Linked DNA regions of Homo sapiens: region 1 is linked to region 2. The links are contacts of gene promoters, found by promoter capture Hi-C in blood cells and fetal thymus (Javierre and others, 2016). All regions are on one chromosome and are shown on one strand. The core of a region is centred on a gene start or on the middle of the fragment in contact, and the rest is flanking DNA. Distances in the headings are between cores, read along the strand shown.

Region 1 (4,478 bases), core at 1,898-4,397, 1.1 Mb before region 2:
CATGGATGAATCTCAGAAACCATGAATTTTAAAAAGGAAGTCACATAAGGTCATATGCAATAAACTATCATATTTGTACATTGCAAAGAAACCAGTAAAATGAAACATTATTATTTAGAAAAATAACAATGTAATTTTACTTATTTCATTTTATTTTGAGACAGGGTCTCTTGCCCAGACAGGTGTGCAGTGGCACAATCACGGCTCACAACAGCCTTGACCTCCCAGCTCAAGCAATCGCAATCCTCCCAAGCAGCTGGGACTACAGATGTGCATCCCCACGCCCAACTAATTTATTTTATTTTTTGTAGAGATAGGGTTTTGCTATGTTGCCCAGGCTGGTCTCGAACTCCTGGGCTCAAGCAATCTTTCTACTTTGCCTCCCAAAGTGCTGGGATCACAGACATGAGACACCACACCAGGACCCCTGGTAATTTTGAAAAGGAAAAGTGTTTAAAAACAGTTTAGTGGGAGTCAGGGAGATGGACTGAGGAGTACACATTTAGCTTCAACAGGACTGGTAAAGTTACAATTCTTAAGTTGGGTAATAGTAGGCTTATTCGTTTCATTAAGCTTTAAACATATGTGTATGTGTTTTGAGTGTGTATCATCTAGAATCTCTGGAAAACTAACATTCCAGCTAATCATAAGGTGACATTCCTGATAACTGGGAACGATGCCAAGGAATAAAATCACTTTATTATTACTATTTGATAACTTTTGTAGTAAGAAAATGACAGGTGCCTCGAAAAATTAAAGCAAGGGGTGGGTAAGGGAAGTGAGTGTGGCTAAAAAAGCAACATGAGGAATCCTTATAGTGCTGAATATGTTCTTTATCTTAACTGTATCAACATAAATACCCTGCTTATGATATTACACCATCGTTTCAAAAGATGTTACCATTGGGAGAAACAGGGTTAGGTGTATATTAGATTTGTGTTATTTCTTCCAACTGCATGTAAATCTAAAACTACTTCAAAATAGAAGTTTACTTTTAAAAACAACAATAGAAAAAGGTCCTTTTAGTCCTGGATTTCTCCACCTTGGCACTACTGACATTTTGCAGCACCTAATTATTTCTTGTGGGTCTGTCCTGGGAATTGAAGGGTAGCATCCCTGGCCTCTATCCACTAAATGCCAGTAATGTGCCTCCATTCGTGACAACCAAAAATGTCTCCATACATGCCAAATGTCCTCAGGGGGGGAAAATTGCCCCAGTTGAGAACCAGTGCTCTAGTCATAAAAGCCAAGAAGAGATATGAAAATGTTCCTAATTGAAGAAGATGAAAGAGATATAACAACTAAACGCAATACTTGATCCTGGACTGAATCCTGTCCTGGAGGGTAAAGAATGCTATAAAGAACATTATTAGGCCAATTAACAAAATTGAAATTAAATGGTAGATTAAATAAAAGTATTGTATCAATATTAAATATACCTAAGTTGGTAACTGTAGCGTACTTACGTAGGAGATTACTGCTATGCTTAGGAAATACATACTGAAGTATTTAGGGGAAAAGGATCGTGATGTATGCAATCTACCATCAAATGATTCAGAAAAAAATATATAGAAAGATATATACACGTGAATAGTATATATATCTGTGTGTATATGTATTTAATGTATATATTGACATATATAGACATATCTACGTAGCAGGTGGATCTGATTAAAGAGTATGCAAGTGTGTTCTTTGAACTATATTATTTTTGTAACTTCGCTGTATGTTTAAACTAATTACAATTCAGGTGTGGGGTTTAAGTGGAAGAAAAAAAAAAAACTTTTGGCCGGGCACGGTGGCTCACGCCTGTAATCCCAGCACTTTGGGAGGCCGAGGCGGGTGGATCACGAGGTCAGGAGATTGAGACGATCCTGGCTAACACGGTGAAACCCCGTATCTACTAAAAATACAAAAACAAAATTAGCCGGACGTGGTGGCGGGCACCTGTAGTCCCAGCTACTCCCGCCTGGGCGACAAAGCGAGACTCCGTCTCAAAAAAAAAAAAAAAAAAAACTTTTATAAATCCTAAAGGCAGGTTTCACAGCAGTAGTACAGCATAAGTGATAAACATCCCAAGAAGATAATGACTACTAACGGGATAAATTCCTACTTCAACCCCAAGACATTCGTTGGAAAGAATTATCTACCTTCAGCCTCTCTCTCTCTCCTTGCCTACTTTCTGGAGGTGACCCCCTGAACAGTGCGGGACAGAAAATTAATCTATCCCATTAAAAAAAAAAAAAATTTCTAGGAAGTGACTCAATAAACCTACATCTCCGCTCGATTTCTCCACAAATCACTGAGGCATCTTCATCCTCAACAATTAAGAAGCAAAATCGAGGAAAGCATACAAGTGTTTCAAAGAAAACCACTTATGCACTCAGCTGAGCAAGAACGTTAAGTGGACTAGAGAAGAGACAACACGGAATGTCTAGGAGGAGTGAGTAAAAAGGAAGGACTAAAAAGAGATAAATCAGGAGCCAGTCTGAGAGAGCTAGAATGCGTATGCCCGCCAGAAAAAAAAGTATTCCAATGAGTGCGAGTGTGTCAGCGGGAGAGGGGTAGCTCACCTGGCTGTGGTAAGCAGAGGGTGCTGAGTGCCCACCAGCTTCCGCACCTGCATAGCGATGTTGCTGAGCTCGTCGCTCAGCAGGCAGCGAAGGCTCATGAAGGACGTGGGGTACCCCACGATCTTCTCCGCCTCTGACACTACCTGATTCCAGTGGGCCGGGGACTTGGAGGACCGACCACGCCAAGAGCCCACCGAGGAGATGGTGTCGAGGGACGGGGACCACCACAGGCGACGCGGGGAACCCGAGGCTCCAAGATAACGTGGCAAGTGCAACAGCAGCTGCCGAAAGTTCATGGTTTGAGTCTGGAAGGGTCTGGGACCTGGGGGTATCCAGAAGTGCCGCGGGAAACAAACCAGGGGCAGAGGAGGAACTTACAGTAACTAAAAGGAAGCGGCAATTCTTGACCCTCAGAGTAAGGTGGCTTCCTGGAGCAGTGACCAGAAACGAACTTTAACTGCTGCTTTCTGCAGCCCAGGCTGGGCAAACAACAGTCCCAGCTCAGCACTGCCCCCGGCCACCCGGGGTAGAAACCACAGCCACTGCCTATGTGGAGGACGCCATATTGGAGGCATGGAATGCGGCCTGCCGTAAAGACAGAGGCGGGTTGTTAAGTATACTCTCTACTTTACGGCGTACCCGAGAACGCCCCCGCAGGGGCGGTGCTTTGGAGGTGAACCCGGGTTGGGAGGTTCAGCTCCTCCCACCCCGCCGCTCTGGGCCAGCAAAGGTCGTCAGTGACAGGGATCAGTTGTGGGCGGCGAGTGGTCCCTCTGCACACGGTATCTGGGCCGAGTCTGGATTCATTAGAGTCCCCGGCGCCCAGCACTGAGTGGCATGCATAAGTATTGGTGTCACGAACAACGGTCAGCCCCCGGCTTGCCCGCAAGGAAGGGCGTCGGGCGGAGGCACCAGTTCCTCCCGGAAGCTTTTTGTCGCTATCGCCACCAGCCCCTGGCAGTGGCAGTGGCCGTGGCCGGGCGTGAAGGCGGCCTCTCGGGCTGCATGCCTCCTGGAGCTGGGGCCACGTCTCAGTGGTGGAACGCCTAGTCGGGGCGTGGGGCTGAGCCCTCGTGTCCTCAGGGCCCAACCAGACATAAGGCAGCGTGGTGCGGCGGAAAGGGGTCCCAAGGAAAGTCCTCGGATCCAACTTCGAATTACCGGCCTCCTCGCTGAGCCTTGGGAGAAACAGCGGTGCCTCCTTCCCGCGGGTGCGGAGAGGAAGAATGAAACGTTGCCTACTCCCTGCCTCTTATCTTCCTCTTTATGCCTAGCCTGGAGCTCAACTCCAGGATTGAAGACTATCGCTGACCGGAGTGCTTTTCACGTACTAGTTCATGTATTACTTTATTTAATCCTCAGAACAACCTCATTAAGTAGATAATATTAGTATTCTCCGTGTTTTGTATGAGGAAACTAAGGTGCAGTCGAGTCGCGTAAGTTCCCTAAGACCACACTAGACAGGGATGTGAGCCCAGACAATCTGGTTTCAGAATCCGTATTCTAACCGAAAGATTACACCGTCTAAATAATAGGCTCCCATCCACTCTTTTCTCCTTATTGCTGAGAGGAAACAGTCAATATGATTATCTTTTAAGTAATGCTACCTATTTTTTTTTCAAATGTGCCTAAGATCTTACCTCCTTTCTTATCACCTAAAACAGGTGTTAACCGTTCTTAATAAAGGATATATTATCCATTTTTTACACTCTTAAAAATAGCTTATAAAACTCTCTAAAACTTTCAAAATCCTTCCAAATTCATGGTATTTTATTTTTATTTTTTATTTATTTTTTGAGATGGGTCTTGCTCTGTCACCCAAGCTGGAGTACAGCGGCGCGATTTCAGCTCACTGCAACCTCCGCCTCCCAGTTTCAAGCAATTCTTGTGCCTCAGCCTCCCAAG
Region 2 (4,080 bases), core at 710-3,209:
TACAAATTAGATTAAAATTATTTCCCCTTCTCAGTTGTTCGGAATCTGCTCTTGAATGTAGGACGGGGGTAAATTTGCATTTCTTCCGGAGTTAGTTACACCTCTCCCCCGTTTGCCATGAAACCCATGAAAAGTGAAACACGACTGTGGTCCACCGTCCGAGGTGAGAGACTCAGTGCAAACCTTTTGGTGCCTGATCGAATCTGTGAGCATCAGCTTATCGAAGTTGTGCAGGCACCAACATCTTCGCCGTTCAGTATTTCCACACCGCGATAACCCTGCCCATCTTGCGGCCAGCATCTTATCTCGGGTGTTACCTGGTGTCGCGTTCTAACAGGGAACCGGACACCGGGGCTGGCCCAGAGCCCGGCGGGCGGACGCGCAGGCCAGGGACCCCCTGGTACCAGGCGCCCTGCCCGGAGTCAGGGAGGCCACGCCGCTGCGCTCCTTGGAGCGTCGGGGGCTGTGCGCTCCTGCCGCTCCCCCTTCTCCCTCCTCTCCCCACTTCTTCCTCCTCTCCTCCCTTCTCCCCCCTTCTCCCTCCTCTCCCGGGCCAGCGCCGCGCTTTGTTGTCGTTGAGACTCTCGGGAGGGAGGAGGAGCCCAGCGGGGACAGCAGCGGGAGCCCGCCGAGTCCCGGCCCACGGCGCGCGCCCGGACACCCACGCCCGCAGCCCCGCGGAGCCGGGCCGCGCAGGCGCGCGCGAGCTCACACACGCGCACTCACACACGCACGCCCGCCGCGCGCCCGGCCCGCCGCCCAGCCCGCCGCCCAGCCCTCCCCCTGGGCGGGGACCCGCCCGCCGTCAGCCTAGGTTGAGGCGCCCTGCGTGTGTCTATAACTTTGTGCTGCTGCCGCGGCCGCCCTGCTCGTGGAAGGGAGGAGGAGGAATGTGGAAGGTGGCGGCGCGCGAGCTGACAGGCGGTTCCTCGGGCGGGCTGCGGCGACGGCCCGAGCGCTTCTCCTTCGCCGAGGTTGCGCGCCCCCTCCTCGCCGTGCCCCGGGCCCGCGCGGGATCGTGCGTCGTCCCGCCGCGTCCCTGAAGGGAAGGAAGCGAGGTAGGCGCCGGAGCCGTGCAGCGGGCGGCCGCCTTCCCGGTGACTCCGGATCTGCTTCCGAGCTGGGCCGGGCGCTTCCCTTTCCCCTCCCTGAGCCGCGGTGTGCGCGCCCCCCTTCTCGCCCGCTAGTGTTTTTAAAGGACTCGGGAAGGGGGAAACTGTCAAGATGGCAGCAGCGGGAGCAAGGAGGTGATGAACGTGCTGGTCCGGGTTTTCTAGCAGCCCGGGAGACTTGGCGCTTCCCGACCTGTTGGAAGATTTATGTTCCGACTCGCTCCCTCCCCCGGATCCCGACTGGGAAGGGGGCGGAGGGGACGACGTCCGCGAGAATGCAAACCACACAAAACCCCGAAGTGGCCGTCCCCGCCGGGCTCGAACCTCTGCGAACACCCGCTGGGCTGCTGCTCCCCCTTCTTTCTGTCTTTCCTTTATTTTTTGGAAGTGACAAGGGCCCATCTGCGCCCAGACCCCCGTTCGCCCTCTGGCCCGCGGGCGAAGAGGGGAGAGGGAGCTGCCCGCGCAGTCCCCGGGCTCGGGCCATTCGACCGGGTGGGGGGTGACGGGGGGTCGCGGAGGCGGCCAGGCTAGGAAAGGGGAGAAGAGCCGAAGACAGCACAGACTTGAGCGGCGGCGCCGCGGGAGGCACTAGAGCGGGCCCGAGCGAAACATAAACAAACGCACGCACACCCGAGCTCGGGCTCTGACCGCGGCTCGGCTGCGCCAGCTCCGGCCGCTGCCCGCTTTAAAGGCGCGGCCGCCCCTCCCCCGGGCGCCCCTCCCCCTTCTCCCCGCCCCGCCGCCTAGCCCGGGAGGGACCTGCGGCTGGGCGGCGGGGGGAGGGGGCTGCCCCGCGCGAGGCCGTCGATTCGCTCGCGGCTCCATCGCGGCCTGGCCGGGGGGCGGTGTCTGCTGCGCCAGGTTCGCTGGCCGCACGTCTTCAGGTCCTCCTGTTCCTGGGAGGCGGGCGCGGCAGGACTGGGAGGTGGCGGCAGCGGGCGAGGACTCGCCGAGGACGGGGCTCCGGCCCGGGATAACCAACTCTCCTTCTCTCTTCTTTGGTGCTTCCCCAGGCGGCGGCGGCGGCGCCCGGGAGCCGGAGCCTTCGCGGCGTCCACGTCCCTCCCCCGCTGCACCCCGCCCCGGCGCGAGAGGAGAGCGCGAGAGCCCCAGCCGCGGGCGGGCGGGCGGCGAAGATGGCAGAGGCACCGGCTTCCCCGGCCCCGCTCTCTCCGCTCGAAGTGGAGCTGGACCCGGAGTTCGAGCCCCAGAGCCGTCCGCGATCCTGTACGTGGCCCCTGCAAAGGCCGGAGCTCCAAGCGAGCCCTGCCAAGCCCTCGGGGGAGACGGCCGCCGACTCCATGATCCCCGAGGAGGAGGACGATGAAGACGACGAGGACGGCGGGGGACGGGCCGGCTCGGCCATGGCGATCGGCGGCGGCGGCGGGAGCGGCACGCTGGGCTCCGGGCTGCTCCTTGAGGACTCGGCCCGGGTGCTGGCACCCGGAGGGCAAGACCCCGGGTCTGGGCCAGCCACCGCGGCGGGCGGGCTGAGCGGGGGTACACAGGCGCTGCTGCAGCCTCAGCAACCGCTGCCACCGCCGCAGCCGGGGGCGGCTGGGGGCTCCGGGCAGCCGAGGAAATGTTCGTCGCGGCGGAACGCCTGGGGAAACCTGTCCTACGCGGACCTGATCACCCGCGCCATCGAGAGCTCCCCGGACAAACGGCTCACTCTGTCCCAGATCTACGAGTGGATGGTGCGTTGCGTGCCCTACTTCAAGGATAAGGGCGACAGCAACAGCTCTGCCGGCTGGAAGGTGCGTACCCACCCCGGGCTGGCAGCAGGACCCGCCGGGCCTCCTGCGCAGCGCGAGACGCGTCTCGGATTCGTCGGAGTGCGCTTGCGGGCTCCAGGGCAAGGGGTTGGCAGGGGGAGCCTCCGCTGCGAGGCTTTGGGGGTTATCTTTGATCCCCGGAGTCGGGGCACCTGGGGACGGTCTCGGAGGGGTGAATGAGGCTCCCCAGAAGCTTGGGGCATGGCCAGGTGAGGAGAGGGGGCAGGGGACGCCGGCGAGGGAAGGGCGAACGGACAGGAGTACATTTGCTGGATTCTCCGGACAGCACCGAGGAGGTAGGTCCGCAGCCAACTTTGGAGTAGAGTTTACCGTAGTGGGGGTCTGGTGCGGGCGCTGTGGCTGGAGTGAGAGGTGTGGGGGTGTTTGGGACGCAGTGTCTGGAGGAGGGGTTGGATGTGTGGTTTCCAGTCTGTCGCAGGAGCATGTTGCGTCGTCACTAGCTGAATGAGAACCTTCGGGTCCAAGTTTCAGCTTGTGGGTGTTAACACCTACAGGCACATCGATCCGATTAGAAAAAGCAGTGGTTGCAAACCTTTTCCTGGACGGCTTCCTTTCCTTGCCTATATTGATACCTTTTCTTCTCGGAGATGTCGCTCCAGTAAACCTGCTTCTGACTAGCTGCTTCTGAAATGTTCTGGGGCCTCGAACCGGCCGGTCTGGCCACCTCAATCCAGACTGGCTGCACCCGCTGCTCCCGCCGAGGCCTGGATTCAGGCACTGTTTGAGGGAAGGGCTCTGGTGTGGGGGACGCGGGGCCTGCGCTTCATTCACTCTGGCGTTTGGGAGGAGGTTTGGGGGCTGGGCCGGGCCGTAATGGCTTCTACCTGTAAATGAACCCGAAGAGAGACTCTCTACCGTTCCTTATCATCCTCTTGGGGCACGGGACACGTGGTAGGGAGAGAGGTGTGGAAAGGCCTATGATGTAATGACTTCCTGCAGTTGGGTATCCAAAGAGATTAACTCCTCTGCCCCTGCTGGGCTGCTGATATCCAGCTGCTTTCCTCTTCCTAGGCACCTCCCTGGCCCCTTCCCCCAAGACAGTGTGTGTCAGTACCAGGCCAAAGAGTCCTGTGCGATTGGAGATATACATCTCTTATCAGCTGCCCATATTTGCAATTTAGCTTAGATTTTTTTTTGTTTTGTTTTATGTAAAAGAAGTAGTTGCTTCC

The links. Contacts are between HindIII fragments. The CHiCAGO score rates a contact against its expected background, and 5 or more counts as called.
Region 1: a contact is called between the fragment with the promoter of PDSS2 here and the fragment with the promoter of FOXO3 in region 2, in 2 of 17 cell types (total B cells and fetal thymus). The highest score is 9.4, in total B cells.

Annotation. Positions count from the first base shown.
Region 1 is chr6:107,456,417-107,460,894 of GRCh38, forward strand. It overlaps PDSS2 (decaprenyl diphosphate synthase subunit 2), which reads right to left and starts at 3,148. Exons shown (of 8, transcript NM_020381.4): 1 at 2,574-3,148. The coding sequence starts at 2,869. RefSeq lists enhancers at 3,019-3,468, 3,189-4,110. The HindIII fragment of the contact is 2,928 bases long and covers 572-3,499 here.
Region 2 is chr6:108,558,958-108,563,037 of GRCh38, forward strand. It overlaps FOXO3 (forkhead box O3), which reads left to right and starts at 1,960. Exons shown (of 3, transcript NM_001455.4): 1 at 1,960-2,872. The coding sequence starts at 2,252. RefSeq lists silencers at 325-684, 725-794, 1,774-1,993 and enhancers at 2,437-2,937, 3,749-4,043. The HindIII fragment of the contact is 5,662 bases long and covers 1-3,081 here.